2 separate regions of the Homo sapiens genome follow, and region 1 is linked to region 2. The links are contacts of gene promoters, found by promoter capture Hi-C in blood cells and fetal thymus (Javierre and others, 2016). All regions are on one chromosome and are shown on one strand. The core of a region is centred on a gene start or on the middle of the fragment in contact, and the rest is flanking DNA. Distances in the headings are between cores, read along the strand shown.

Region 1 (4,639 bases), core at 1,007-3,506, 1.2 Mb before region 2:
TGTTACTGTTGCTTTAATCCTTGGAGCCTAACACAGCGCCTGGTGTACAGAAAAGGAGCAACAGATATGGATAGAAAAGTGAGAGCAAGGGGCACACATGCCATCAGGCTCTTCTTCAGACTCTTTGCCTCATAACTACTCCTATACCTGTAGTTTGCAAAGGCATATTCTTTAGCCCGTGTGCAAAATAAAAACTAAAAATAAAAATTGTGTTCATGTCCTGAGAATAATAAATTATATGTATAATACACTATATATACACATATACATGCATAGATACATGTCAGCCTATCAACATGTACTTAACTATATATAACATATTGTACATATAGTATTTATACATGTTTACAGGCACACAGGTATATCCATACAAATCCATACACACACACACACACACGCATTTACATATGAACAATACGTAACACATGTTTTATATATACAACTCAGAGTGTATCATATAATATATCATAATAATATATTAAGGAAGAGGAACATGGCAACGTGAGATTTGAAATATTTGAAGAAATAGTGTGGAGATTATTTATTCATTTATTCCACAAGCCTCCTTTCCATGTCTACCATTTTCTGGTCTTGGTGTTAGAAGCTTAGGGATAAAGCAATAAACAAACACTGACCCTGAACTCATGAAGCTGAACAAAAACAAATAAAAATCCAATAATTTCACACATAATGTTTATGTTCTGTTTTTATAAGTACTATATTTAATAGATGTAAGAATCCTTTCATATCAGTAGTATATTGGGAATAGAAGTAGGTCTGGGCAATTGGTTTTCTTTGTTAAATACTCTGAGCTCAATTTTCATGAAGAGGCCCCGAATAAGCTCAGTGGGAGAAGGTGAGGCCTGTCATGACACTAACAAGTGCAATCTTAGCTTTTCTATGTATATGACACAGTATCTGGATAAAATTTTAAAATTTCAGTCAATGAATCTAATGCCTCAAATTACCAAAACATTTGGTTGAGTAGAGATTGCAAGGAGTACCTTGACTGCATTGTTTTGTTTTACATAGGCATTTCACATTTTGCTGTTAAAACTACTTATTTATAAAATAAGTTGAACAATCTTATTTCATTAAATCTACGATATGCTTGCTCTTTGCCTAATTAAATTCTTTTTCTTATGTTTTCTTTTTTAATCTCCTTTCATTCTACCCATGTTGCCCAGAGTAAAGACTCTATGCATTAGATAGGACATTTGGGGGCTTAATCTTCACAAAGTATTTAGCATTAAAATCATGTCGCCCTGAATTCTAAATTATTTTTATCTTCCCTGACATTACAAATTCCCTTTTGAGAAGTATTTTTTGGCAGTGTCTTGTTCCTCATGTCCAGATCCTTAATTGCATGACCATCAGGAAGGTGATATACAGTCTATTTAAAGATCACATGTTGCTGTAAATCTCTGGCACAGTGACGTGGTTTATAAGGCAAATTACAACTCTATCGGACTCCTTTAAAGCGATTAAGATTGTTCTTTTTGTTGACTGTTTTTGGTCACAGTAGGCAATGTTTTTTTTTAAAGGTTACTTTTGATAAAAGGTAAGATGCAATGACAAAAGGTTTCTAAGATTAAGACAAACACATTTTCCTGTGATTTTGGTAAATTTACATAGGAAATAAAAAGGTTCTAAAGGAGATTTTATCTGTAAATCGTGCTCTTGACATCTTGCATTCTATAAATAATGTGGAGCAAAATCAAAGAACTGACTCTCCTTGATATTTGTGCTCCCTAATGGGTTGAGCAATCTCTCTATCTCTAGTTATGATGATGTGGTCATGAGGATGTGGTAATGGTGCTGTGGTGTCATGGTCCTGGTGGCATCGCTGTGGTGGCATGGCTGTGGTGTCATGGTCCTGGTGGCATCGCTGTGGTGGCATGGCTGTGATGGCTTGGTCCTGGTGGCATCGCTGTGGTGGCATGGCTGTGGTGTCATGGTCCTGGTGGCATTGGTGTGGGGGCATGGCTGTGGTGTCATGGTCCTGGTGGCATTGCTGTGGTGGTGTGGCTGTGGTGTCATGGTCCTGGTGGCATTGGTGTGGGGGCATGGCTGTGGTGTCATGGTCCTGGTGGCATTGCTGTGGTGGCATGGCTGTGGTGTCATGGTCCTGGTGGCATCGCTGTGGTGGCATGGCTGTGGTGTCATGGTCCTCGTGGCATTGGTGTGGTGGCATGGCTGTGATGGCTTGGTCCTGGTGGCATCGCTGTGGTGGCATGGCTGTGATGGCTTGGTCCTGGTGGCATTGCTGTGGTGGCATGGCTATGATGGCTTGGTCCTGGTGGCATCGGTGTGATGGCATGGCTGAGATGGCTTGGTCCTGGTGGCATCGCTATGGTGGCATCCCTATTATGTCATGGTCCTGGTGGCATAGCTGTGGTGGCATGGCTGTGGTGTCATGGTCCTGGTGGCATTGGTGTGGTTGCATGGCTGTGATGGCTTGGTCCTGATGGCATCAGTGTGGTGGCATGGCTGTGATGGCTTGGTCTTGGTGGCATCACTGTGGTGGCATGGCTGAGATGGCTTGGTCCTGGTGGCATCACTGTGGTTGATCCCTGTGATGTCAATGTCCTGGTGGCATAGCTGCGGTGGCATGGCTGTGATGTCATGGTCCTGGTGGCATCGCTGTGGTGGCATGGCTGTGATGGAATGGCCATGGTGGAATGGTTTTGGTGGCATAATCCTGATGGCGTGGTCATGGTGGCATTGTCTGGTGATGTGGTCATGATGGTGGGGTCATTTTACAGCCTGATCTCCATCTGCTACTCGCCTCTTTAACCTGCCTTGTTAATTGCTAATAATACAGGCCTGATTTTTCTCAAATGCACATTTTACTGCCCCTGAAAAACCCTAGGCATACTTATTTTTGCTCCCCTCAATGTTACTTTCTGTTCCATAAATCCATAAATGGACCAATCAGAATGCATATTCAGTATCTAGAACTGACAATTGTCTAGATGTGAACAACTAAGGTAACCCCTCGATTGTGTGTGAAATGTATTTACTATCGCTCTAATCTGTATTTGTCACAGTGTTCTCAGCTGGCATGGAGACCACAACAGGCATTCTGTAGGCCCGACAAACACACATTTGTTGCTTCCCAGACCTAAAATGTGTGTCAAGCTCAGTCATGAGACATAGGTAGAAACTGCTTTTTCTGGATTTCCCATAATTCTTCTCCATGACATCTTGGCATTTCTGGGTTATGTATATTTTAAAATCTGGACATTTCCACTGTTAGCTTATATCATACAGGAGATTTTACTTTATGTTGTTACCTATCTAAAAAATAATCCACCTGTTGGATTCTCTATTTTTCTACTTTAAGACCAGAAAATTAATTTAATTAAAAATAGTTAGTTCTTTAAAAAACTCAAACAGTTAACATGTAATTTTTGTCAATAGATGTTTTAAAATCTGGCTTATGATCAAACCAATGAGATAATAGTTGCGATCTTAACAGTTAATAACTTTCAATATTCTGACTTCGAGAGAGAAGATTATAAGTCTAAGATAACAGGTAAATTAATATTGTTTCTGTTCTATTTCATTTGATAGAAAAGGGTAGTGGGAGATGATTTTGGCTAGTTGATATGTTAATAATGACATGTATTTATTTTATAATATGTCTAGACAAAAAGCTATGAGTATGTAGTGTGACACTAAAACCTCAGTTCTTTTCCATTCATGATAACATGTTTTACAAAATTGCTTAATTTTTGTTAATTTTCCATTTCAACTCAAAATGAAAAATTCAATGATAATTGACCAGTTCAGTAAACAATAGGACGGGATTTCAGGACGTTGATCAATACTTGAGAGTCCTCTCCATCAGTTTTCCTGGAACCCCTGTAGAATAACTAATACAATTAGATATTGATGGGATGTCACAAGCTTTTTATGATAGGCAAGGAACTCCAGTATGCAACAGTATTTCCTCAGAGTGTGTGTGTAAGTGCACGCGTTTGCATTACAAGCTAAGACTTCTAGAAAAATAATACCTCATCTGGCCATTTGCTAGCCTCAAATTCCAGTTTTCTCAGAATTTCACTCATTTCCTAGTCACATGGTTCAATAATATAATGAGCATTAGAATTATTGTAGCTTTGCTTTTCATGTTTACCCTCAATTCCCATTTTTCAGGAAAGGCAATTTGGTACCCTGATACAACCACAGGCACCTGTCCAACCCCTCTAAGGAGACTAAGTGTATTGGGGTCTTTTCTCTGATGATCTGTATGGTTCACTCCACAAGCTCAGATCCATTCTGGTCCTTAAGTGTCCATTCTGCACAGCTCAGTTTTCTTTTTTTTAATGTAATATGTCTAAAACTATCGGAGACTCTAACAACTTTAGAAACACACCAGGTTTTCTATGCAGCCTAGGGCTTCCAATTGCAAATATTCAATGAATAATAGGAAAATTTGAGCCTCGCTGAAGGCACATGTCAATATTCTGTGCATCTTGATCGAATGCATTATTGTCTCTTTAGCTGCATGTGTCAGCCGGCTATCTAGAAAGATGGAAACAACTGAGTCCCTGTAGCCAGAGCTTCTTAATGGTCCACGCAAATATGCTTAAGTTTATTTCCTTCATAACTCTTTGAAAAGCTTCTCACCACT
Region 2 (4,791 bases), core at 428-2,927:
CACAAGTTCGCAGCCTAACTGCGGGATAAAGACGTTTCCCCCGTAGCTTAACTAGAAAAGCGCCATCGATGGGTGTGTTAAACGGGATAACTAGAGATTTCAAACACCTTTTATTTGCCTGTCTTGAAAAAAAAATCTAAATGAATACGCCCGCTACCAAAAGGCAAAATAAAACCAACCTTAAGGGTTTTTGTTGTTTTTTTTTTTTTTCAAAAGTGGCGATAGGGACTGTTTGGACCTGACTCCAACCTGCGCCCTCCCTTCCTCTATGACCCTCCTGCGCTTTTCCTGGAACCCAAAGCTCTGACTTCGTCAAACTTACACAATTAAAGGCAGGCGGAAGAACGCGGGCTGGGAAGCAAGCGGGAAGATTCTAGAATGGAAGGGAGCCCGCCGAGCGCCGCGAGCCGCGCCAGGCCGGGTCCGATGGAGCAGGCGGGGATTCCTCCCCCAGGCGGACCCCCGCCACCAGCCCTGCCGGGAGCTCGCGGCCTGCGGAGCGCCCGGGCTGGCCGCTCACCGCCCGCTTCCCCCAGCGAACGACTCGGGGAAGCTCCAGGAGGCCATCTGTGCTGACGGTTCACACCAGACAGGACCACTTGCAAGGACAAAAATAAGAAATTTAGGAAACGAAAAAAGACGTACTGGGGCGAGGGGCGCGGGCGCGGCGACGACGGGGCCGGGGGCACATCCTGGCGGCCGCTCGGGGAGAGAGGACACGCGCGGGAAGGAGCGCGGCGGGTGCACGGCCGCGGGTGGGAGTACGCGCCTGTGCGCGCGGGGCGAGGGCGAGGGCGCGTGCGTGTGACCGCGGGGAGGGGGCGGGCGCGTGTGCGGGGAGCGCGCCGCGCCAGGGGCCGAGTGTGTGGGGCCGATCCAGAAGTGCGCAGCCCCCTCACCTGGCCCCCGTGTCATCCCCGAAATCCCGGGAAAGGGTGGGCCGCGCGCGGGAGTTTGGTGGAGTTGGAACTTTCGGTCGCGCTCGCTGCCCACTCCGCTGGCGCCCGGTGGCCCGTGGTGAAGGGGGACTAGGGTGGGGAACACCGGGGCCCTGCGGTCCCCTCCCTTTCCTGTATTTAAGAAGCCGCCGGCGGCGCAGAGGCCCAGGCGGGCTGGCGCGGGGGCGAGGCGGCCCGGTGGCAGCAGCGGGCGGGGCGGGCGCTCCGGAGTCGGTGGGGCCCGCGGGTTGGGGGGCGGGGAGAGGGGGGAGTGGAAGGGAGGGGGAACGCAGGGGAGGGAGAGGAGGGGAGGAGCCGCGCGGCCCGCGCCGCTTCCGAACCGGAAAGTTGGTCTTGCCGAAGTCCTGCCACCCCGGCGTGCGCACTCCGCTCCGCTCCGGCCGCGAGCCTCCGAGCCCGGCCGGCCGCCGGGGGAAGCCCGCGGAGGGGACGCGGGGCCGGGCGAGAAGGTCCGGAGAGCGGGGGGCACCTGAGCCCGGGCGGGCCCGCCGCGCTGAGCGGCGCTGAGAGCCGCGGCGGAGCAGCGAAGGCGGCCGGCCGACCCCGCGCGCCCGGAACAGGAGGCGCGGCGCCCGAGCGGCCCGGGCGAGACAAAGGCGCCGGGTCGGAGCCCTGCCCGCGGCCGCTCGCTCCGGGAGGGGCCGCCCGGCGGCGGCGGCGGGGGGGGCGCGGGCGGCGGCGCAGACACTCTATAAAGGGGCGAGCCCGGCGCGCCGGCGGAGACGGCGCCGCGCGGACGCCGCCAAAGTTTGCTGCCTGCGCCCTGCGGAGGGACGGCCACCGCGGCCCGCGCCGCACCCGGGCCCCGCCACAGCCGCACCCGGGGCGGCCGAGGAGCGCGGCGCCGGAGCCCGCGATGTGAGGCGGCGCCGGGCAGCGCGCGCCCCGGTCCCGAGGCGCCGCGGCCCCCTCCTCGTCGGCGCGGCCGCTAATTGCGAGCGCGGCCTCATTTGCATAGGCCGCCGGAGTCCGCTGGAGCCCGGCCAATCGGCGCGGCCCTCCGCTAATGGCCATGCATTATTCACCAGCCTAATTGCTCAGCCCCATGCGCGGCCCGCGCAGCCGCCGCCGCCCCGCGCCCCGCGCCGCGCGCCCGCCAGGCCGCCCCGCGCCGTCCCCGCCGGCCGCCCCGCTGATGCCGCTGCCCCGCGCGGGGCCCGAGCGCCGCTAGCAGCATGTCTCGGCGCAAGCAGGCCAAGCCCCAGCACCTCAAGTCGGACGAGGAGCTGCTGCCGCCTGACGGGGCTCCCGAGCACGGTGAGGGCCGGGGCTGCGGGGTGGCCGGGGGGTCTGGGGCTGCCCGTCCGGGCTGGGGAAGCGCGTGCGGCGGGAGCGGATGCGCGCGTCCGGGAGCGGGAGAAAGTTCCCTGCTTCCTGCGGGCAAGCGTCCGCCCCGCGCCAGGCCGGCCGCGGGGCCCCGGGTACTTCGCCGGAGCGCGCGCGGCCGCCGAGAGAGTTGTGGGCGAAGTAAACTTGGCTCCTCTCCTCGGAGTCGGGGAGCTGCCCGCGAAGGGCGCCGAGGCCGCGGCCGGCTCGAGGACGGCTCGGAGGCCGGGGCGGGAGGGAGTCCACGGTGCCTCCGCCGCCGCGCCGCCCCCCAGGGTCTCTGCGCCAGGACGCTGAGGCCGGCGGCGGCGGGGAAGGCGACCGCAGCCCACCTACCGCTGGACGCGGGTTGGGGACCCCGCCGCCCGGCCAGCTTTGTTCGGGGGCCCGCGGCCCCTCCCGGGCCCCCGCACCGCCTCGGGTGACCCGCGGTGTCCCAGCGCGTTGACGCAGCCTGTGATCCCTCGCGAGGCGAGGAGAAGGTCGGGGGCTTGGCTCTGCCTAATGGCCGCCCGGGGAATTAAGCTGGGGGTGAGCGCAGCGGCGGCGGCCTGGGCCTGGCCCCTGCTCGCGGCGTGTTTCCGGGGCGTTCGTTGCAGCGTCTGCGCGGGCCTTTTCTCTCCCGTCTTTTTGGATCCGCCGAGGCCGGGCGCTGGAGACCTCGGCTTTGCAGTCATTTCGCTGGTAGGAGCGTCCTCTTCGAAACATCCAAGAGCAAAGGGCAGGCGCCGCGAAAGTTAAGAGACTGGCAAAGGGCTGGACTTCCCAGAGTGGCGCCTTAGCCCCGCAAAGTTTGGGGCGCCCCCACCCCCTTCGTCGAGTCAAAACCTCGGCCGGCGGCGCCCGGGCTTCGGCGCGCCCCGCGGGGCCCCCAGGGCGCCAGGAAAGAGGGCCGAGGAGGGGCGACCCCACGACCCCGAGCCCGCAGCACAGCTCGCAGTAAAATAATTTGCTCCTTAAAAAAACAGGCAGGCCAACTTTTATGATTGACCTGTTATAAGTTGTTGGAGGCAGATGGTGATCTTTTTACTCTGAGAATGAGACTGTCTGCGAAAAGGAAACGGGGCGGAAGAGTTTCCCACACAGTGGAGTAAAGTTTGACAAAGCGGGTAGACACCCATGTCGGATGAGAACGAGAGAGCATGCTTATGACGCGGCTGGAGAATTAATGAATTAAATAAAATTAGTGAGCTCGCTGGGGTCTTTTTGTTGCGGTGGAGGTAAGGGAGTCTTATCTGTGTAGCCAAGTCAGCCAAGATGAGAACAGGCGATATGCTAAAAAGAAACGCTTGCATATGGTGGGTAGATTAAGGACAAAGAATCTTTTTGTCATGGAAATGGATTTTTTTTTGTTTTGTTTACTTCATCACATAGAATTTCTCACACTTGGTTTGTTTTGTATCGCCCTCAATGACTACATGATCAAATGAATGGATTTATTTCTGCCGAATGAGAAAGACAGTCTTTCCTTCAAAAGAACTACATTGCGTCCCAGTGAGGAATTTTAAAGCTTTATTATTGTGGCTCCTGAATGGCTTAAAATCGGCTTTCACAGCCGCCCCAAAATGCAACAATGTAAATACTTCTCAGCTTTGTAGGGTCGGTATCAAAATGTGCGATGTCTCCTTTTATTAAAGCATATTTTAATTAATAGAGTAAACCCCCTGGTATTTAACAATTAACAAGCTGAGGCACTGCTATTCATTTTTAATTTCACTTCAGAAATGTGAGCATGCTGAACTTAATAGTGTAAACGTGTGGAGGGCTATATCGCCTATATTTGAAAGCCTAAGATGGGATAAATTATTCACAAGTTCTACTTTGAATCCCTCTTGTTGCTGCTCGAATTTATTTAGAGATGCAAAATATTCAGGTTTTTTACCCGTGGTAGAATTGAAGTTCTTGTCAAGCCTGTGTTTTTCACAGCATCCAGAATTGTAATCCAGACGTTGCCACAGTTCCTGGTCATGTTTTGCAAGAGGCCCAAAATACCCTGTGTGGGGCCGAGTCTTGGTCGAGCAGCTCACATGCTTGTTTGAGAGAGTTTAGGCAAACTATTTTTTTTAAGTTCTTTCTCATTTAATTATATTCGAAGCAGCTTGTTCAAGGAGCATAACAGACACTCTGTTCCGTGTTAAGTCAAGGAATGCCCCATTTGTGTATTACTCGGTCGCACTCAGCATCGTTCCTAAGATAACTAAGTAAAAATTATAAAAAGGTAAATGGGTGTGGAAACCAAATTACTCCAACCTGAGTCAGATCTCCTCAAAATTTTAATTTTGTTAAATGCAATGGAAATAAACAGACCGTGCCGGAAGTTGCAAGTGAGCTCAGTTAGTTTAGTGTTTTAGAAACGAGGTAAATAATTCCTTTGTATCACTCGGGGAGTGACATATTAATTAAAGCAGCAGGTCCATCTACATGCAGTAAAATGGAAAGCTACTGATAATGTCCTGCAGAACAAATATTCTATGCAAAAATGTTTAGTATAATGGGGGACAGAGAT

What was found. The method cuts DNA at HindIII sites, captures the fragments that hold promoters and counts their contacts. A CHiCAGO score of 5 or more calls a contact.
Region 1: a contact is called between a fragment that was not itself captured here and the fragment with the promoter of SALL3 in region 2, in 1 of 17 cell types (endothelial precursors). The highest score is 5.8, in endothelial precursors.

What each region holds. Positions count from the first base shown.
Region 1 is chr18:77,767,231-77,771,869 of GRCh38, forward strand. No RefSeq gene overlaps it. Among named protein-coding and RNA genes, the nearest start is that of LINC01029, 220 kb to the right of the region's middle. The HindIII fragment of the contact is 3,308 bases long and covers 603-3,910 here.
Region 2 is chr18:78,978,141-78,982,931 of GRCh38, forward strand. SALL3 (spalt like transcription factor 3) reads left to right here and starts at 1,678. Exons shown (of 3, transcript NM_171999.4): 1 at 1,678-2,216. The coding sequence starts at 2,135. It overlaps LINC01896 (long intergenic non-protein coding RNA 1896), which reads right to left and starts at 1,551. Exons shown (of 5, transcript NR_187297.1): 1 at 900-1,551; 2 at 323-598. RefSeq lists an enhancer at 3,095-3,924. The HindIII fragment of the contact is 14,735 bases long and covers 1-3,793 here.